7 separate regions of the Homo sapiens genome follow, and regions 1, 2, 3, 4, 5 and 6 are each linked to region 7. The links are contacts of gene promoters, found by promoter capture Hi-C in blood cells and fetal thymus (Javierre and others, 2016). All regions are on one chromosome and are shown on one strand. The core of a region is centred on a gene start or on the middle of the fragment in contact, and the rest is flanking DNA. Distances in the headings are between cores, read along the strand shown. Region 1 has its middle 96 kb from the start of RBBP8-AS1. Region 2 has its middle 70 kb from the start of CABLES1. Region 3 overlaps RBBP8 (RB binding protein 8, endonuclease). Region 4 overlaps RBBP8 (RB binding protein 8, endonuclease). Region 5 overlaps RBBP8 (RB binding protein 8, endonuclease). Region 6 overlaps RBBP8 (RB binding protein 8, endonuclease). Region 7 holds the start of SLC35D4 (solute carrier family 35 member D4).

Region 1 (2,796 bases), core at 22-2,521, 410 kb after region 7:
TATTTTGAGATGGAGTTTTGCTCTTGTTGCCCACCCAGGCTGGAGTGCAATGGCATGATCTCAGCTCACTGCAACCTCCGCCTCCCAGATTCAAGTGATTCTCCTGCCTCAGCCTCCCGAGTAGCTGGGATGACAGGCATGTGCCACCACACCTGGCTAATTTTGTATTTTTAGTAGAGATGAGGTTTCTCCATGTTGGTCTGGCTGGTCTCGAACTCCCGACCTCAGGTGATTCGCCCGCCTTGGCCTCCCAAAGTGCTGGGATCATAGGTGTGAGCCACTGCGCCCGGCCTATTATTATTTTTTTATGAGACGAGGTCTTGCCATGTTGCCCAGGCTAGTCTTGAACTCCTGGGCTCAAGTGAACCTCCAGCCTCAGCTTCCCAAAGTGCTGGGATTACAGCCGTAAGCCACTGTGTCCAGTCAACACTTCGGCTTTCTAAGGACTATTCTAACAGTTCAACTCGGCAAAGAGAAAGACTGAGGTGTCACTTAAACTGCTAGATATGCTGAAAATACACAGTTGGATAGTAAAATTTGAGATACAGTTCAAATGCTTATTTCTGCAGTGGCATTTTTCAAAATTAAACTCATGGATGTTATGAGATGACAAAGATGACAAAGTAAGATTCTTAGGTGTTTCTTTAAAAGCTTGCTCTTTTAGAGAATATTTGTCAAATTTTGTCTAATTCTGACACTGTACTTAGTATCATGCCTGGTAAAGTGCTGAATAAATGTTTGTTAAATAAATGAACTAGTGTTATTTGGTTTATGTAACATTAGTCTTTTTATGTAACTGAATTACAAATGAAAGACCATCTTGGAGCTAGGCTCAGTGGCTCATATCTGTAATCGTAGCACTTTGGGAGGCCGGGGCAGGAGAATCACTTGAGCTCAGGAGTTCAAGACCAGCCTGGGCAACATAGTGAAAACTCATCTCTATAAAAAAAAAAAAACACAAAAAATTTAAAGAAAGACAATCTTGGGAGAAATCTTTGCCCTCTTTCAAAGTTATTTCTTTCAGAGCGTCTAATGCCCTACATACATTTAAAAATACATGCTAGTTGCAGTTTATTATTATTATTATATTATTATTTTTTTGAGATGGAGTCTCGCTCTGTCGCCCAGGCTGGACTGCAGTGGCGCTATCTCAGCTCACTGCAAGCTCCGCCTCCTGGGTTCACGCCATTCTCCTGTCTCAGCCTCCCGAGTCTCTGGGATTACAGGCGCCCGCTACCGCGCCCGGCCAATTTTTTGCACATTTAGTAGAGACGGGGTTTCACCGTCTCTCCTAAATCGAGCCAGGATGGTCTCGATTTCCTGACCTCGTGATCCGCCCGCCTTGGCCTCCCAAAGTGCTGGGATTACAGGCGTGAGCCACCGCGCCCGGCCTATTTTGTTATTTATTGAGACAGGGTCTCACTCTGTCATCCAGCCTGGAGTGCACTGGCGCGATCTTGGCTCACTGCTGCCTCAACCTCCCGGGACTCAAGGGATCCTCCCACCTCAGTCTCCCAAGTAGCTCCTGTGCCACCATGCCCGGCCTAGATGCAGTTTAAACTGAGTTACTAATATATTGAGCCTATTGGCAGCAGCCTTGCCAGTTGGACTTTGAGAAAACTTTTCACCGCATGAAATGTTTTAGGGAATATTCTTCTGTTTCATCTGGCTTTTCTCTCAAGGTAACATTATCATGTCTTCTACACATATTTGGGTATCCATGATTAACTCATTCAGACTGTCCCATTTGACAACCTTAGGTTTCAAACGGCTTAATCAGAATATCTCTTTACTAAAGGTAGGCAAGCTGTCAGTCAAATGTTAAGTGCGACATATAGGTTCTACATGTTTCCTAAGTTTAAATCAATAGTCTCTAACTTTAAAAAGCTTGCTAGTGGCCAAGTGTGGTGTCTCCTGCCTGGAATCTTACTACTTTGGGAGGCTGAGATAGGCAGATCACCTGAGGTCAAGAGTTTGAGACCAGCCTGGCCAACATGGTGAAACCCCATCTCTACTAAAAATACAAAAATTAGCCGGGCGTGGTGGCGCACGCCTGTAATCCCAGCTACTCAGGAGGCTGAAGCAGGAGAACTGCTTGAACCCAGGAGGTGGAGGTTGTATTGAGCTGAGACTGTCACTGTCACTCCAGCCTGGGTGACAGAGTGAGAGACTCCATCTCAAAAAAAAAAAAAAAAAAAAAAAAAAAAAAGCTTGCTGGCAACCTGAAATTCTATGTAACTATGTAACCAGTGAATGACATACATTCTTATGAAAATATTATCTAACGTGTATTATACAAATGCTTTACAAATGTATAAAGCCCTTTAATATACATTATCTTTTTAAAGAAAAGCTTGAGTGCAGTGTCATAAACAGCCATTTTGCATTTAAATGTTATCTAACCCAAATGTTTTTTAGTTTTGAGAGAGTTTCACTGTGTTGCCCAGGCTGGAGTGCAGTGACGTGATCTTGGCTCACTGCAGCCTCCACCTCCCAGATTCAAGCTATTCTCCTGCCTCAGCCTCCTGAGTAGCTGGGATTACAGGCATGCACCACTACGCCTGACTAATTTTTGCATTTTTAGTAGAGACGGGGTTTTGTCATGTTGGCCAGGCTGGTCTCAAGGTTTTGACCTTAAGTGATCCACCCACCCTGGCCTCTCATCAAAGTGCTAGGATTACAGGCATAAGCCACCGTGTCCTGCCACTGAAATGTTTTTAAAATGTGTCTATTTCCTTACTCCATTTAAAGGCAGAAGTTGGTCCACAGCAGATAAGATGGGAGAGAGACCTCAGC
Region 2 (2,884 bases), core at 304-2,803, 370 kb after region 7:
ATGAAAGTCTTTTATAATTATCTTGTTTGTCCTCACAACCTTCTAATGGAGTGAACAAGTTATTAGTAAAAGCTTTCTGTTTCAGGAATTCCTTTTGTGAGGTACTATTAGATAATCTGATCTCTCTCGCTCCTTTCCTGTCTGTTTTCTTCCTGGCCCTGCCTTTCCAGGTTGAGGAACGAGGAGGAGGACTTGGTCTTAAGTTGGACGCAGCTGTCTGTTTAAGAAATCATCAATGACGCCATTCGGCTTTAACAGGATTCCTTTTTCCTCTCTACAAGAGCCAGGAATTTCCACTTGATAGTTTGTTCATACCTTCTTAGGAAAATCCCACTAAATCACTGCAGCTCAGTACAGAGAAAGAACAACACGAGCTAGGAATGGGCTACCGTTCCCTGATTATATGATGAATAAATCAAAAAGAGTTGTGAAAGAAACCATTAATTTAAGCCAGAAGAAAGCTGGGCAAGTTATAGACTGCATAAAAAAGTATAAACTGCAAAATACTCATTTTTGGAAATACCATTGTAGACTATTACAGCCAGAAGAAGGCCGGGCATGGTGGCTCATACCTGTAATCCCAGCGCTTTGAGAGGCTGAGGTGGGCAGATCATCTGAGGTCAGAAGTTTGAGACCAGCCTGGCTAACATGGCAAAACCCTGTCTCTACTAAACATACAAAAATTAGCTGGGCGTGGTGGCATGCTCCTGTAATCCCAGCTACTTGGGAGGCTGAGGCAGGACAATCACTTGAACCTGGGAGGCAGAGGTTGCAGTGAGCCAAGATCACACCACTGTACTCTAGCCCGAGCAAGAGTGAGACTCCGTCTCAAACAAACAAACAAACAAAAAAACAAAACCAAAAAAACAGCCAAAAGACAACTTGAAAATCAATGACCCTATCTTTTTTATAGATAAGGAAATTTAAGACTAAAAATAAGCTGACTCACCCTAGTTTGCAGCAATATTATTTGGTCTTATGTTGGGGAGCTGTGACATAAAATGACAAATTAAAAAGAAAAGCAAATTTAAAACAGAAGTCAGCAAACTTTGTCTTAAAAGGCTAGATGGTAAATATTTTTGGCTTAAGGGCAATACCCTCTTGGCCATTGTAGCAAAAGCAGCCATAGACATGCAAACAAATCAGCATGGCTATGTTCCAATAAAACTTCATAAAAATAGGCAATGACACTAGGATGGCTACAACAATTTTTTTGTTTGTTTTTTGAGATGGAGTCTCACTCTGTTGCCCAAGCTGAAGTGCAGTGTCACGATCTCAGCTTACTGCAACCTCCACCTCCCGGGTTCAAGCGATTCTCTTACCTCAGCCTCTTAAGTAGCTGGGATTACAGGTGCACGCCACCATGACAGGCTAATTTATATATATATATTTTTAGTAGAGATGGGGTTTCACCATGTTGGTCAGGCTGGTATCGAACTCTTGACCTCGTGATCCACCCGCCTCAGCCTCCCAAAGTGCTGGGATTACAGGCATGAGCCACCGCGCCTGGCCTTTTTTTTTTTTTTTTTTTTTTTTTTTTGAGATGGAGTCTCACTCTGTCACCCAGGCTGGAGTGCAGTGGCTGAATCTCGGCTTACTGCAAGCTCCGCCTCCCGGGTTCACGCTATTCTCCCGCCTCAGCCTGCCGAGTAGCTGGGACTACAGGCACCCGCCACCATGTCCGGCTAATTTTTTGTATTTTTAGTAGAGACGGGGTTTCACCATATTAGCCAGGATGGTCTCCATCTCCTGACCTCGTGATCCGCCCGCCTCAGCTGGATTCCAAAGTGCTGGGATTACAGGCATGAGCCACTGCGCCCAGCCCAACAATTTTTTTAAAAACAGGAAAATAGGTGTTGGCAAGCATGTGGAGAAATTGGAACCCTCATTATGTTGCTGGAGGGGATATAAAATGGTGCAACCTCTGTAGAAAACAGTTCGGCATGTCCTCAAAATTTAAACATAGAATTACCAAATTGTAAACGAAATGCTAGTTAGTGGCTCTCTGAATGTGCAGTCTCGTTAACACGAGTGAGATCTGACACAAAAAAAGTGAATTTATTCCGAAGCTAGCTTGGAGAAGGGGCACAGAGTGTCCTGCCGTTAAATGTGCCACTTTGCTTTTAGAGCAGAAAGCAGGTATTTTTGATAAGGCAAGGGAAGACACGAGCAAGGGCAGGGGTTCCCCTAACTTGGCATCTTATTTATGGGGGCAGTTGAGCTGGTGCCTTCCTGGGTAGAAGTAAGTTGTGAAAGTGGCCAAGTGGGCATGCTTTCCATATGCCCTCTTGGTGGATTAAAGTTCCAAGGCAACCCCCTGACAGTGAAAGTTTCATGGCAGGTATGCTTTTGTTTTCTTTCTTTCTGAGACAAAGTCTCACTCTGTTGCCCAGGCTGGAGTACAGTGGCACAATCTCAGCTCACTGCAACCTCTACCTCCCAAGTTCAAGTGATTCTCCTGTCTCGGCCTCCTGAGTAGCTGGAATTACAGGTGTCCACCACCACACCCGGCTAATTTTTATATTTTTAGTAGAGACAGGGTTTCACCATATTGGCCAGGATGGTCTCCAACTCATGACCTCGTGATCTGCCTGCCTTGGCCTCCCAAAGTACTGGGATTACAGACATAAGCCACCGCACCTAGCCATGGTATACTTTTGTTTCCAAAACACCAACGATTTGGTCTCGGTCCTGCTGGCCTCCTACACGGGAAGCCAATGACTGAGACAACAAGTATTGCTAAGAGAGAAGGCTTTAATCGGGTGCTGTGGCCGATGGTAGCTCAGTCTCAAATCCATCTCCCTGACCCACTAAAATTAGGGGTTTATACAGCAGGGAAGAAATGTAACAATGTGCGAGAAAACAGGAATTCTGGAGGGGTAAG
Region 3 (2,756 bases), core at 170-2,669, 490 kb after region 7:
TAAGGAACAACTAAACAGGAAGAGTACTGGAAGTCAATATAAGTTGGCCAGTCATCTTACTGTCTCCTACCACAGTAGGAGAATAAAATCCCTGGCTCCACCTTCTGTGCTGTGAAATCCTTCACCTGTTTCCACATAGGTGAATACACCAGGCATCCCATAGTCAGATCCTGCTATAAATGAGGAAAGCAGGGCAACTATGGCTCCAGGACTCCCTGTTAGCTTTGTCAAAGCTCTCTTACAAGTACAGTATCCTCTTCCCTCTCTTCTTCACAGAGTTAGAGGCATGAGGGTCTGACAGCTCTCCCAGACGCCTCATTTCTTACAGGTATTTTTCCCAATAAATCTCTTCAGTGTCCAAAGTCTTATTGATGTTTGCTTCTCAGAGAACTCAGGCTAACATATTTCGTTATTAATACCAATCTTGAAATTTTCTTTACATAGGAATGATGGAACAAAAAGCATTCCTAATCTCTTGGCGTTAATGCCATTACTCACTCCAACCTCACTGCTTGTAGAAAGTGGTGTAATGGTAGAAATGAGAGAAAAAACGTGGTGAAATAAGAGAAGGAAGCTCTTCAATGGCTGGAGTTAAAGGCTGAGAGAGATATGTTCCCTGAAATCCTCTACTACATATCCAGAGAAAACAGAAGGAAGCGCCTCACCACACTACAGATGAGTAACTAATGATTTCCTTTCCATTGCTGACCTGGGAAAGGGTGAGTGGGAGAGATGGCTTTCTAGTTTCCTGGCTTCTCAGCTAGACAGCCTAGACATGGCTGTGTTATATAACACAGATTAGAGTGCTAAAAGTTGGAATCATCTTCCAATTAGGAGATAGTATATGTCTTATTAAATATCTGTTATGTACTGCTGCTTCCATTATCTCATTTAAACTTCAAAATAGCCCTGCAAAGAAGGTATTGTTAGTGGTCAAGACCTATGTTCCTGGCTTTTCTTCTATTTTAATAGTTTCTCTTTCTCAATCTTTTGCTGGCTGGGTCCTTATTCTTCATGAAACCTTAATCAGGAATGCCAAAGGATTCAGCCCTAAGACCTCTTCTTTCTTCCTATACTATTCAAAGATGTCCTTAAGAGATCCACTGAATCCTAGATTCACATATACATCTATCTACTTGACATTTCCATTTGGATAGACAGGCTGTTGCTACCTACTTATATCCCTTTGTTATTCTCCTGCTTAAGTGGTTTCCATCACAATTAAAATCCAAACTTTTTGCCTATGTCCCTACGAAATCTAGTTGTTGCCCCACTAGATTTCCAATCTCACTCCTATCACTCATCCCCTTTACTCATTAAACTAGAACCACAGTAGACTTTCTGTTCCTCAAATATTTCAAACTTATTTCTACCCTAGACTTTCACATTTGTCTGTTCTATTTCCTTTTGTCTCTAGTTCTTCAAGTGGATGGTTCCTTTCTGTCAATCAAGTCTCAGTTAAGACAGCACCCCAACTCCATGGTGACAGAAGCTCCTGTGTTTAGGATCCTTCTAGACCTCACCCCATGTATCTCTTCATTTGGCTGTTGACTTGTAACCTTTAACAAATTTTTTGTAATAAACTGATAAATATAAATGTTTTCCTGAGTTTCGTGAGTCACTCTAGTAAATATAACCCGAGGAGGGGGTTGTGGGAACCCCAATTTAGAGTCTGTCCAAAGCATGGGTAAACAACCTGGGGCTTGAAATTGGCATCAGAATTGAGGGAAGGACACAGTCATGGGGACAAAGCCCTCAACCTGTGGGACCTGATGCCATATCCAGTGTAGGAATTGAATTAAGAGGATACCCAGCTAGTGTCTGCTGTAGAATTAATTGTTTGCTTGTTGGTAGGGGAAACTCCTCCTCACATCTGGTGTCTGAAGCATGTTGTACGAGTACAGTGGGAAAAGCTGCGTTTGGTTTTTTTTTCTACACAGATCCTGTGGTTACTCAATTACATAATTCGATTTTATTTTCTTCATAGCATTTATAATCTGAAATTGTCTCATTTGTTTGTCGTATGGCTCACTCCCAACCTTTGAAAATTAAATATATGCACAGACAGGAGTGCTAAATTATATTCACCAACTAAGATATGTAAGTCTTATTCAACTTCTGTTATGTATTGTTACTTGCACTGTCTCATTTAATCCATGACATACTAGGAAAAGTATCATCCCTAGCCCCCTAGAGCAACACCTAAGACAGCAAGGACTCAAATATTTGTTGTGGAATCTGAATTAAGAACACAGGGTGAAGCTGGAATTCAAAAACATATGTGATTCTAAAGCGCACAGGTCTTTATTCCACAATACACTGCCTATTCCAACAAATGTGCATCCATTGAGTTGGTAGTTGTAGAAAGTACTCAATTTCAGTTTGCACATATGAAGAATATTAAATTATTTCACCACTAAAAGGATAGAGACAAACTCAAATCACCCAGCCCTTCCGTAACATATACAAAAATATCAAGAAAAAAATTTTTTTAAGAGACAGGGTCTTGTTCTGTTACACAGGCTGGAGTGCAATGGCACAATCATAGCTTGCTCAAACTCCTGGACTCAAGCAATCCTCCCGTCTCAGTGTCCTGAGTAGCTAGGACTCCAGTCACATGCCTGGCTAATTTTTAATTTTTTGTAGAGATGAGTTCTTGCTATACTGCGACGCTGGTTTTGAACTACTGGACTCAAGCAATCATCTTCTTGCCTTGGCTTCCCAAAGAACTGAGGTTACAGGCATGAGCCACTATG
Region 4 (2,890 bases), core at 119-2,618, 470 kb after region 7:
GCCTGCCCTAATTCTTTGGATCGTAACAGAACCTTGCTGGCAGAAAAACTGAATGAACAAAATGATGATTTAAATGTATGTTCCCCAATTAAAACATTAACATATCAAGCCTGTCTGTTTTAGAAATTAAACACTGGGGCCAGGCACGGTGGCTCACAACGGTAATCCCAGCACTTTGGGAGGCCGAGGTGAGCGGATCACGAGGTCAGGAGTTCAAGACCAGCCTGGCCAACATAGTGAAACCGCTTCTCTACTAAAAATACAAAAAATTAGCTGGGCGTGGTGGTGGGCGCCTGTAATCCCAGCTACTTGGGAGGTTGAGGCAGGAGAACTGCTTGAACCTGGAAGGCAGAGGTTGCAGTGAGCAGAGATGACGCCACTGCACTCCATCCTAGGTGAAAGTGTGAGACTCCGTCTCAAAAAAAAAAAAAAAAAAAAAAGAAATTAAACATTGGTTCACCCTAGAAAAGCTATCAGTAAAACTTACTACATGAACAGATGCTAAGAGTTTTATAAATTCACAATTAAGCAAAACTTGGCAAAAGAGGTACAGAAAGAAATATCCATAACTTAATTTCACGTATCTACTAGAAGGCCACAGCACACTTAAATGTAATATAGTCTAGTCTTCCCTTATGTATCAACTGCTATTCTGGGCAGTATTCTAAAGCCCCTTAGGCCAATAAAGTATGTAAAGAAAAACAATCACCAAAAGAAACTGTAAAAATAATTGAAAGAAAAGACGAAATTGTCACTATTTGCAAATATTTTTACCTAGACAATCTACAGCAAAATAAAGCTAATGAAAGACCTCAGAAATCCTTAGTCATCTTCCAATGATGGAGTGAGTGGGAGGGTCGGGGTGGTTCCTGGCTAGTGAGACTGAAGCAAAAGTTATTGGGTGGGTGTTCAAAGAAGCTTTTTTTTTTTTTTAAAGACTCTCCTGGCATGCTCATTTCAGCCTTTTGCTGCTGCTTCTTCCTTCTTGTATGAATGCAGTTACGAGGCCTGAAAAAGTACCTGCCATCTTTTGACTGTGAGACAGTAAGCTTGAGGATGAATGCCTGCAAATTCTAAAGATGGTAAATTTCTACTTCACATTCCATGTTAAAAATTCCAGATGGATTAAATATGCAAATTTACGTGTGTGTATTTTTATATTCTTGGGGATAGAGAAAGCCTTCCTAAACAAGGTAAGAAAATATACAAAACTTCCACTTGTCAAGTAGTTATAAAATGAAGTCAACAGGTAATGGCAAAGTAGAAAATATATGCACAGCATATCTACCAAAGTGTAATAATCCTTCCATAATATATAAATAACTCTTAGTTATTCACTAAATTAAAAGATACAAACAGCAAATAGGGCAATTTAAGACTGGGCAAAGAATAAATAAGCCATTCACCCAAGAAGACGATCATATAAAATAATACTTGACTGGAACAGTAACAGGGAATGCCAATTTTAAAAAGGTATCATTCTTCACCCACCAGATTGAATATTATTAATACATTTTTGCCCAAATCTGAAGAGGATGTAAGAAAATAAAAATTCTCAAACATTCAAACAAAAAGTTGAGCAGTCCATTAAAGTGACAATAGCTAAAAAATTGACACCTATACTATGGCATACAATGCAGCCATTTAAAAAAACGTTGTCTTATACTTTAACACCTAGATAAGCTTTTTTGCTTGCTTGGAGTTTTTGGCTCTATTTTAGATAAAGTTGCTGGAAATCTATTAGATATGTAGACATTATTGGAGATTATTTCCAGTAGTACTAACAATAATATTACTGTGGATCTCAACTACAGTTGGCCTTCTATATCTGTGAGTTCTAAATCTGTGGATGGGAAACATTTGGGAAAAAAAAATTCTACAAAGTTCCAAAAAGCAAAACTTGAATTTGCCAGACACCGAATACTACATTTAATTCACACAAATGAAGTGATGCGTAGAGACTGCATTTGGTATTATAAGGAATCTAGAGATGATTTAAAGTATGCAAGAGAATGTGGGTAGGTTATATGCGAATACTATGTGACTTTATATAAGGTACTTGAGCATCCAAGGATTTTGGTATGCGTCAGGGTCCTGGAACCAATACCCTACAGATGACAAGGAACAACTACATATTTATTGAGATGTAACAATTTTCTACTCATTGATAATATTCTTACATTCCTAAATAAATGTATGCACACGTTCACCCATATACACCACAGAATCTATAGACATATTAACATGTAAAGACTTCCAAGACATAGTCTAAAGTGAAGTAACACATTAGAACACAAAGTATGGTATGATAACATTAAAATTCAAAAGAGAAGGGAGGGAAGCGGGGTCTAACAAGGCACAGAGACAGAAAAACCTGGACCTGGACAGATATGTATCAGACTATTAACAGTAGTTACCTCTGGGAGCAGAATAAAGCTATATTCTTTCTTACCTCTTTTAAAAACAATGAGCATATATTCAATATTCTTGCTTGAATAACCACAGGGTAGCAATATAATTAACAGAAAAAAATAAAAGACAGAATTAGTTTGGAAAAGAAGATAATTAATTAGATTTTGAATATATTGATTGTGAGTTGCTTATGGGAAATCCAGGTAATGGTCACCAAAAGAAATAAATAGTTATAAGAGAATAAGGTTAACAGAAGTATTAAAAGAATAAAAGAAGGCGGCTAAGAATGTAGAAAAACTCTACACTCAATAGGTAAGGAGAATAAACTGAAAATAGTATACTTATGAAAACAGTATGTCATAAATACCAAGAGAGAAAACAAGTGTAGAACAATAAATTGTCTGCTTTGTATTTAACTTTACTAAGTATTAAGGTTACATGAAATAAAGATTAAAACCAAAGAAGCAAATATGGACAT
Region 5 (3,190 bases), core at 462-2,961, 450 kb after region 7:
AAAAATCACCGGTAAAATGTGAGAATCGTCCTATAAATACAGACACCTGAAGGAAGAAATAAGTTTTTTTCCAAAACAATTCAATCTATTTAAAAAAGTAAATAATGACATTCAATCTGAAGTCATTAAAAAAGTGGAGATCCTGTTTATGGTGTACACACCTTGGTTGTTTTGTAGAGACTTTATTTTACCAGTTCTACATGGATTTAACTGAAGAACTGATGCAAGTTCACATCCTCCATGGTCTGACCTGGTTTGTATTTTTATTGGCTCATGAGAACCAGCACTCTAAAACAGAAATAATTGTTAGCTCTAAATGAAATCACAAGCAATCATTTTAATCAAAATCCTTGAACATTTAACACAAACCTTTATGTCATCTAAAACATTCTCAGTCTCCAAACTTTCACGTGGACGTAGAGGAATTTTAAAGACAGCATTTTCTTCTTTTATTTGTAATGATGGTTTATTGTCTGGAGAGCATTTATTCAAGGGCTGAAGGATGATGCATTCCTGTGAACAGGGCTCCCCTGGGGAATCTTTGGGCAACGTGCAGTTGCCATCTGAGGCCTTACGGCTTGAGGAAAAGCCCTTTGGAATGGTCTTCAAAGCCTCATAAAGAGTCACTTGCCTAAATTTGTTTTTAGAAGTCTCACTTCCTTGGCTTTTCTCTTGACGCTGAATAGCTGAAAATCGATCAGACAGATCCAGAGGTTTATCCATCACACAGTCTCCATTCATGGAAAACTGATTATCCATTGGAAAAGGGAAAGCATTTTCTTTATCAAAAGAAGCTTGGGGGCAGCTTACTTCATGTTCACTTTCTTCCTCAGTTTTCTTCCTTTTGGATGTTCGGCCTCCCAATGATTTCAGGGGCTCCAAATGTTTATCAGTGTTAGAATCTTTACCGTACTCAGTCCTATTCTGTTCACCTAGGGATTCACTTATATTTTTATTTATAAGTATCTGTTTATTAGATGACTGGATAATGATCTTGTTCACTTCAGACCCAAGACTGTGATGTGTGAAAAGGGCACTATCTTCAGATTTTGATCTAGTTTTTTCTAATCTAGATATACAAGTGTTGCTAAAAGGGAGTGTTTTCAGATGTTTTTTTTTCCCAGGCTGTAAAAGAGAAGGGGACAAACTTGTATTCAAATCTAAACCACTTTTGATACTAGAGGTAGCTCCAAATACAGGAGATGACACTCGAGTAGGTAATTCTTCTTGAGGAGGAGTCTTTGAAGTAGAATCTGAAAATCTAAATAAAGAGTGATAACAATTCTTTAATACAGAATTAATAGTAAGGTCTTATCTACCTCTTAGAAGCAAATGATTAACCAAAATTTAAGACAAGGTACAGCTTTTGGCTTCTCTTCATTTAGATGACAAAAGAGAAGGGGAAAAGCAGAGGAAAATGACATAGGAAGTATTTCTCAACACCATAATATTCATATTTTAAAAATTTTTCCTAAGTACTTTAAATAACTTTATTATACAAAAAATCATCTTTTGCCAGGCGCAGTGGCTCATGCCTGTAATCCCAGCACTTTGGGAGGCCAAGGTGGGCAGATCACTTGAGGCCAGAAGTTCGAGGCCAGCCTGGCTAACATGGTGAAACCCCATCTCTACTAAAAATACAAAAATTAGCCGGGTGTGGTGGCACACGCCAGTAATCCCAGCTACTCTGGTGGCTAAGGCACGAGAATCACTTGAACCTGGGAGGTGGAGGTTGCAGTGAGCTAAGCCTGGGTGACAGAGTGAGACTCTGTCTCAAGAAACAAACAAACAAAAATCATATTTTAATAAATTCCACTGAGAACCTAAGTTCTTTTGTTACGACATTTGATCATGAGTAACTCCAAGAAACAAAATTCTTACACTACAGAATTGAACATAAATTAAGATTCAGCCTGTCTCTAGCAGAGGAAATATGCGTAGAAAGAGCAGTAAGTTTGAAGATGTGGGCTGGGTAAGATCTCTGGCTCTACCACTTAATAGCTATGTGGCCTGAAACAAGACATTTAACCTTTCTGGAGCTGTATTTTTGTAATCTGTAAAATAAACCCAAAAATTAGGGTAACAAAATCTACTTTAATCAGTTACTAAGATGACAGACTGTGATATACATATATAGATAGATAGATATCTATATATCTAAAAACTGAAAGCTCTTTTAAAAAGCAAAATGCTATATAAATACAGGTACAGTGGCCCTCCTTATCTGTGGGTTCTGCATCTGTAGATTCAGCCATGTGGCTAGAAAATAATTTGGGTAAAAAATCCAAATTTCACAACATTCCAAAAGGCAAAACTTGAATTTTCCATGTGCCAAGTACTATGTTGAATCTTTGCAAATGGATTGATATGTAGGCATTGTATTAGGTATTATAAATAATCTGGAAATTACATAAAATATACAGGAGGATATGCACAGGTTATATGCAATAATGATGGCCATTTTATGTAACGGACTTGAGCATCTTTGGATTTTGGTACCCATGGGGGAGGGGGTCCTATAACTAATCCCCCACTGATATCACGGAATGGCTGTATTATTAGTTAATAGGTATTCTGAAATTAGTAAAAATGAGATGCAACACAATCTTGGAAGCTCATCCAAGCTTCTAGATGCATTTTGTAGAACATCCAGTTTTGGGAAATATAAACCCCGAAGGGATGACTGGCTCTTTAAAGGAGCAGAGTGACAAGTACTGGGAACAAGTACTGCTTGACAGAAACACAGAAAGTAGCTAAAAATGATATCCACCTTTCTACTGTAATGCAAAAAAGCTCTCAATTGGTCAGAAACTAGGGAGACAATTTTTAAAGTAAACATTTATATAACCACAATAACAAACTATATGTTGAAGGAGAGAAATGGCTTAATTATATGAAATTCATTGTAATGGGATCTCACCAATAGCTTATCAGTTTTCACCAACGTGCCCTTAATTACCTTAAACTATCTTCAGTATTTCTTGTAGATTCCTCAAAAGGCTGTTTCTTGTGATTTCCTTCCAGACAGTGGTAGAGCTCATCACCAAGGGGGCTCATGGGACCTTGAGTTTCCTTCAAGAGTAAAATATGAAGCACATCCATGTAATGGGATTTGTTCATTCTTAAAAAGGGATGAAGTACTGATATATGTTATGATGTAGATGAACCTCAAAAATATACTAAGAAGCCA
Region 6 (3,168 bases), core at 445-2,944, 430 kb after region 7:
ACCATGAAACAGAAAGTATACCTTAAATAGAAGTGTAATAAAAAGATCACATACATGCCCCTCTAGTTGGCAAGCACTTTCCCTCAAAAAGAAAAGTTTTAGTCACTCTAAGTATAAGTCCTTTTTTGTTTCAACTCAAGAACCCTCAGCTCTGGTGTGATCTGTGAATTAGAAAAGGGAAACCAGAAAAGTACACACAAAAAATATTGCCACAACTATATTTTCTTTCAAAGAGTTTATGGACTCCTAAGATTATGCAGATCACATTTTGGCCATATCCTTTCTTCTGAATATTAACTACTCCACTTCTATAGTGTCTTATCGTGACGTAGGGAATCTCCTAGCAGAACAGCATCTGTAGTAGACCTCAAAGCATCACTTAAACAAGCTTCTTGTCCCTGATACTACACAATCCATCTTCCCAGGTTTGCAGTCTTAGTATTCTCAGTGGAAAAAGCAACAATGTAACTCTGAGAATTCTAGCATCTCCATGCCTCCATCCCCACACTTCCATTCACCTCTTGTTCTCCAGCTATCTAATTGCTTCAGAATAAATAAAACTACTCATACATATTTTCTAAAAAACTAGTGAACCTTTAACATGAAACATTTAAAATGACAGTTCTTTTTTTTTTTGGAGACAGGGTCTCACTCTGTTGGCCCAGGCTGGAGTGCAGTGGTGTGATCATAGCTTACTGCAGCCTTGACTTCCTGGGCTCAAGCGATCTTCTCAAAGCTTCCTGAGTAGTTGGGACTATAGGCACACACCATCACACCTAGCTAATTTTTAATTTTTGTAGAGACGAGGTCTCACTGTGTTGCCCAGGCTGGTCTCAAACTCCTGGGCTCAAGCGATTCTTCCGCCAAAGCCTCTTGAAGTGCTGGGATTACAGGCATGAGCCACCTGGAAAATGACAGTTGTTACTCTGCAGTCCTACTTCTAGGAATCTATCTCAATGATCTACAGGCAAAAATATGAAAAGAGAATGTGCAAGGTTATTCACTGCAGCACTGTGTGCACTAGGCATAACTGTCAACAACCCAAGTGTCCACTGCTAGGGTATAAACTACAGTAGGGTCACATAATGAAGTACTATGGAGCTAAAAAGAAATGAGGAATATCGCTATATACAACTTGAGTGATTTCCAGGATCTATAGTTAAATAAAAAAAGCAGGCCAGGTGCAGTGGCTCATGCCTGTAATCCCAGCACTTTGGGAGGCCAAGGCAGGCAGATCACAAGGTCAAGAGATCGAGACCATCCTGGCCAACATGGTGAAACCCCATCTCCACTAAAAATACAAAAATTAGCTGCGCGTGGTGGCGCATGCCTGTAGTCCTAGCTACTCGGGAGGCTGAGGCAGGAGAATCGCTTGAACCCAGGAGGTGGAGGTTGCAGTGAGCTGAGATGGCGCCCCTGCACCCTAGCCTGGTGACAGAGCAAGACTCCGTCTAAAAAAGCAAAGTAGAGCAAAGTATATATAATATTCTATATGAGTCATGGATAGCATGACTATATACATGTATTTGCTTCTATTTTTTAGGATAGAAGAAAAATCATAAATTTTAAACAAATGATTACCTATAGGGATAGGGAGCTATAAGATATAGAGGCCAAGAATAGACGTGAGATTTATCTGAATATACTTGTAGTCTGGTACAATGTACATACTTTGTGTCCATTATATACATTTTATATATATATATATAAAATACATTATACTTTATGTACTTTTAAAAGAATTAAATATGAAAAGAAAAAAACCCAATTCCTAAAAAATCAAAAGCAAAATAAGGTACTGAGTTGGTGGCATAACTGCAAAAAATAATTATCCCAAATGACTTTAAAAAAAAAACGCAGTGATTTTACTGTACATTTCTAATAGAATATATTTTAAGGACAAAAGAGCATACAAAAAGTTTTCAAACAATTTTCATTAATTATATTATTGGTGGTATTATTCTGAAACTGCTTTATGTGTATTGTGGAATAAAATAAATTAAGGAATTATGTTGGTGGCACTGAGAAGTGGGATTTTCAGTAGGTGGGAAAGTAAATAAAGATGTAAGATAGAGGAGTTTACATAAATATCCTGTGGTCCTGAATTTGAGTTAGAGCGATCAGTATGAAGTATAGTTTACCTTAAAAAATCAAAGTGATATGGCCGGGTGAGGTGGCTCACGCCTGTAATCCCAGCACTTTGGGAGGCCGAAGCGGGTGGATCACGAGGTCAGGAGATCGAGACCATCCTGGCTAACACGGTGAAACCCTGTCTCTACTAAAAATACAAAAAATTAGCCAGGTGTGGTGGTGGGCGCCTGTAGTCCCAGCTACTCAGGAGGCTGAGGCAGGAGAATGGCGTGAACCCAGGAGGCAGAGCTTGCAGTGAGCCGAGATTGTGCCACTGCACTCCAGCCTGGGTGACAGAGTGAGACTCTGTCTCAAAAAAAAAAAAAAAAAAAAAATCAAAGTCATACAAAAAATCTTTTTCCTAACTCTGTCCACCTAAAAGGCTGAGAAACAATGACTAAAGTGCAACCCTAGCAGCCAGACTGTGGCCTAAACACCATTTCTCACTAAAAGGAACTAGGGCTCCAAGAAAAATGGCAGATTCCAGATAACAGAAGCAAGAAACCTATGAAAGAAGCTTCCTTTTCCTTTAGGCAAAGATGGGACAATCTGGGTATCTCTAAGGATAATGACTGCAATGGATTACAACACATCAAATATACTTAAATTGATGAGTATATAATGACACCTAAACAAAAAACAACCTAGTCACATTTGGAATGCTAGAGTACCATTTGTTTGGAAAACTGGTAACTAAAAAAGAAGAATTAAGCATTAAACAAAATGACAGCTCTTTAAGAGTTTCAGAGGAATAAAAAAAATCTTGGCCTGTTAGATTTCTAAAATTCTCAACAGAAATAAAAATAAAAGGAGTAACTTTACTGAGTAACTCAATTTACCAACATCTTAAAGAAAAAAATAACAATTTTTTTTGAATGAATTACTATGTCTTCAATTTGCTTTAAGAACAAATAGTAGGTGACTATAAGTAACAGAATTTGCAGTCCTTGTGAAAGGCAGAAGGTCGCATTATGGTTAAATCAAGATGCTTAGCGCCAGGCGTGGTGGTTCACGCCTGTAATCCCAGCACTTTGGGAG
Region 7 (2,806 bases), core at 111-2,610:
TGATAAAGACTTACCCGAGACTTGGTAATTTATAAAGAAAAAGAGGTTTAATGGACTCACAGTTCCACGGGGCTGGGGAGGCTTCATAATCATGGTGGAAGGCAAAAGGCACGTCTTACATGGTGGCAGGCAAGAGAGAAAAAATGAGAGCCAAGCGAAAGGGGTTTCCCCTTATAAGACCATCAGCTCTGGGGAGACTTATTCACTACCACGAGACGAATATGGGGGAAACTGCCCCCATGATTCAATTATCTGCCACCAGGTCCTTCCCATAACATGTGGGAATTATGAAAGCTACCATTCAAGATGAGATTTGGGGACACAGCCAAACCATATCATCCAGTCTTGGTAGAGAAAGCTATACCCATCTGTACAAGTGGTTTGAAGGAGACTGTGGGAGAAAAGGGAGGGAAGGGGTGACCAGCCTACCTCCATCTCTATGTTGGTCCCCTCTGCAGACCAACCAGCAGGCCCAGGAAGAGACCTGTGGAAAAGTGAGCAGAGGCAAAGGACTGCGATGAGACAGTGGTGGCTGGGGAGTGGCTTCAAGGGGACAAGCCGAGGTCAGCCCTCCCTCAATGCTGGAGGGAGCAGAGAGAAACAAGGCATGCTTCTGAAAAACAGAAAAATTACATAAGGGTTGGTGTGTCGTTTTCCATCCACTGCTCCAGCACCGAGAGCCAGGAGGACTTTTGCTGTGGCTTAAGAGTGATGGTTTCCCCGTGTGTGGGTGTTTCTGAAAATCTGTGTGTTTCTACAGGCAGAGAACACTGGCACTTTTTGCTATTGTCCAAGTCCATCAATAGGTTTTCTTGCATGTTTACTAACATTTGCCGGAAGCCTCATGAGTCCAGTTTTCCACCCTATAGACTAGGAATAGGAATAGGAATAGGGGCTGTGCTTGGGAAAGGGTTCTTATTTTATAGAAATGTCAAGAGAATGGAATGACTTTAAATACAAACAAAACTCAAAAAACCTATACTCAATTCCAGTTCCTTCTTCCTTCACCTTCCCTCTTTTAAGTGAACATTTGTTGCTGTTACCTTTTTTGTGTCATTTGCCAAAGCGCTACAGACTCAGTGGAGAAAATTGGGAAAATTCAGTGAAGCACGGGTAATATTTTGGTCTCATAGTTTAGAGATAGCGATGAACATTTTTCTTTAAACACTGATGGGGTATTGTGAACTGCGGTATGCTTTTTTCCTCTTCTGCCACTTTCTACTCTTTAAAAGAAGATAAAAAAATAAAAAATAAAAAATAAAAGAAGAATGACCGTCCTTCGAGGGCGCGGCCCCTTTAAGAAGGCAGACGCCGGGGGCGGTCCCCGCGCTGATTGGCGGAGCTCGGAGCCACGTGGCCGTCTCTGGGCGGCTGCTGCCGCTGCCGCTGCTGCTGCTGCGGGGGTCGGGCGGCGGCCAGGGGATTTGGGCAGGCACCGTGGATCCCCGAGAAGGGGACGAGTTGACAGATGTGCGTGAGGAGGTCTCTGGTCGGCCTCACCTTTTGTACCTGCTACCTGGCTTCTTACCTCACGAACAAGGTGAGGGGGCGGGCGCGGGAGGCAGCGATTGCACGTGGGAGGTTTGAGTCGGAGAATCTTCCCGTGACAAACGGAGCCTCCTCCTGCTTTTTACCTCATTCTTCCTGGTGGCGATGGAGATGGAGAGCGAACCTCCTCCGTGTGTGGGATGCTCTTTCAGAAATAGGATTTGCCAGCCTGTACTGTCCCCGTTTCCTGCACTGTAAAGCACGGTACATCTCCAGGGAAACAGGATTTTTGGGCTGGCCATTTCCCGGGAACTTGGTTTGGGGCTGTGTGGACTAGTTTTAAGAGAAAGCAAGCAATTGGCTCCTGCTCCCCCGGGGAGGAAGAGTCAGAAGAAATCTGACACATCCTGCCTTTTTTCTAAACACGCCCCTGTCCCAGAGCCCCCGTGAAGTTCCAGAAGCCTTTAAATAGAAGAGATTAAGCCGTCTCCCCCTCACACTGCTGATTCCCGAATCAATTTTTTTGTACGTCTCCATTGTAAGCACTTCAGGAGTTTTTCATGGAATTATTATTTTTTAAAATAAAACATACATTTAGTTTTAGGTTTAAACTAATGTCATGACATCATGAAAACCTTTTGGTGAGGAGGCAGAGAAGCAGTGGTGCCAGCTTTGGGGTTTTGTTTTGCAAGGAGAGGGAAGCTGGCTTTAGGTTTGGTACCACGCAGGGAAAGGTTGGATCCAATAGGACCGAGTGGGCATGGCTGGGGCATTACCTGCTGGCCTGGACTCTGGGCTGGCCCCAGCCAAAGTGGGAATACAGGGTGCAAGACCACCTGGCCCCACTGTGGGGTCTTACTGCGGGCTCCCCACCTGCTCCCCGCTCTTCCTTTCTCCTCTCTTCCTCTCTGGAAAAGAACCATCGACAAACAGCATTTCCTTCTACCTCCTCTCCTACAATGAATGGCTGCCTTTATATATTCAGAGGATGCTCCCCAACCCCCTTTCCTTCTCCAGTTGATTTTTATTTTTATTTTTTTGAGATAGAGTCTCGCTCTGTCACCCAGGCTGGAGTGCAGTGACGTGATCTCGGCTCACTGCAACCTCTGCCTCCTGGGTTCAAGCGATTCTCCTGCCTCAGCCTCGTGAGTAGCTGGGGCTACAGGTGTGCGCCACCACGCTGGGCTAATTTTTGTATTTTTAGTAGAGACGGGGTTTCACCATGTTGTCCAGGCTGGTCTCGAACTCCTGACCTCAGGTGATCCGCATGCCTCAGCCTTCCAAAATGCTGAGATTACAGGTGTGAGCCACTGCGCCT

Evidence for each region. Contacts are between HindIII fragments. The CHiCAGO score rates a contact against its expected background, and 5 or more counts as called.
Region 1: a fragment that was not itself captured here is called in contact with the fragment with the promoter of SLC35D4 in region 7 in 5 of 17 cell types (naive CD4 T cells, endothelial precursors, naive CD8 T cells and 2 more); the score reaches 8.7 in naive CD4 T cells.
Region 2: a contact is called between a fragment that was not itself captured here and the fragment with the promoter of SLC35D4 in region 7, in 5 of 17 cell types (naive CD4 T cells, endothelial precursors, non-activated CD4 T cells and 2 more). The highest score is 7.8, in naive CD4 T cells.
Region 3: a fragment that was not itself captured here is called in contact with the fragment with the promoter of SLC35D4 in region 7 in 3 of 17 cell types (total CD4 T cells, fetal thymus and activated CD4 T cells); the score reaches 6.5 in total CD4 T cells.
Region 4: a contact is called between a fragment that was not itself captured here and the fragment with the promoter of SLC35D4 in region 7, in 2 of 17 cell types (total CD4 T cells and total CD8 T cells). The highest score is 5.7, in total CD4 T cells.
Region 5: a fragment that was not itself captured here is called in contact with the fragment with the promoter of SLC35D4 in region 7 in 1 of 17 cell types (activated CD4 T cells); the score reaches 5.3 in activated CD4 T cells.
Region 6: a fragment that was not itself captured here is called in contact with the fragment with the promoter of SLC35D4 in region 7 in 4 of 17 cell types (non-activated CD4 T cells, endothelial precursors, total CD4 T cells and 1 more); the score reaches 6.4 in non-activated CD4 T cells.

Annotation. Positions count from the first base shown.
Region 1 is chr18:23,028,616-23,031,411 of GRCh38, reverse strand. No RefSeq gene overlaps it. Among named protein-coding and RNA genes, the nearest start is that of RBBP8-AS1, 96 kb to the right of the region's middle. The HindIII fragment of the contact is 1,236 bases long and covers 654-1,889 here.
Region 2 is chr18:23,063,656-23,066,539 of GRCh38, reverse strand. No RefSeq gene overlaps it. Among named protein-coding and RNA genes, the nearest start is that of CABLES1, 70 kb to the left of the region's middle. The HindIII fragment of the contact is 2,957 bases long and covers 75-2,884 here.
Region 3 is chr18:22,950,643-22,953,398 of GRCh38, reverse strand. The region is part of intron 4 of RBBP8 (RB binding protein 8, endonuclease); the gene reads right to left. Among named protein-coding and RNA genes, the nearest start is that of RBBP8-AS1, 18 kb to the right of the region's middle. RefSeq lists an enhancer at 850-1,538. The HindIII fragment of the contact is 7,109 bases long and covers 1-2,756 here.
Region 4 is chr18:22,969,192-22,972,081 of GRCh38, reverse strand. All of the region lies in intron 5 of RBBP8 (RB binding protein 8, endonuclease), which reads right to left. Among named protein-coding and RNA genes, the nearest start is that of RBBP8-AS1, 37 kb to the right of the region's middle. The HindIII fragment of the contact is 634 bases long and covers 1,052-1,685 here.
Region 5 is chr18:22,990,819-22,994,008 of GRCh38, reverse strand. RBBP8 (RB binding protein 8, endonuclease) reads right to left here. Exons shown (of 19, transcript NM_002894.3): 10 at 2,960-3,072; 11 at 370-1,261; 12 at 162-288. Among named protein-coding and RNA genes, the nearest start is that of RBBP8-AS1, 59 kb to the right of the region's middle. The HindIII fragment of the contact is 1,830 bases long and covers 797-2,626 here.
Region 6 is chr18:23,008,067-23,011,234 of GRCh38, reverse strand. The region is part of intron 16 of RBBP8 (RB binding protein 8, endonuclease); the gene reads right to left. Among named protein-coding and RNA genes, the nearest start is that of RBBP8-AS1, 76 kb to the right of the region's middle. The HindIII fragment of the contact is 1,911 bases long and covers 739-2,649 here.
Region 7 is chr18:23,436,515-23,439,320 of GRCh38, reverse strand. SLC35D4 (solute carrier family 35 member D4) reads left to right here and starts at 1,360. Exons shown (of 15, transcript NM_032933.6): 1 at 1,360-1,540. The coding sequence starts at 1,469. RefSeq lists a silencer at 1,232-1,331. The HindIII fragment of the contact is 5,255 bases long and covers 1-2,806 here.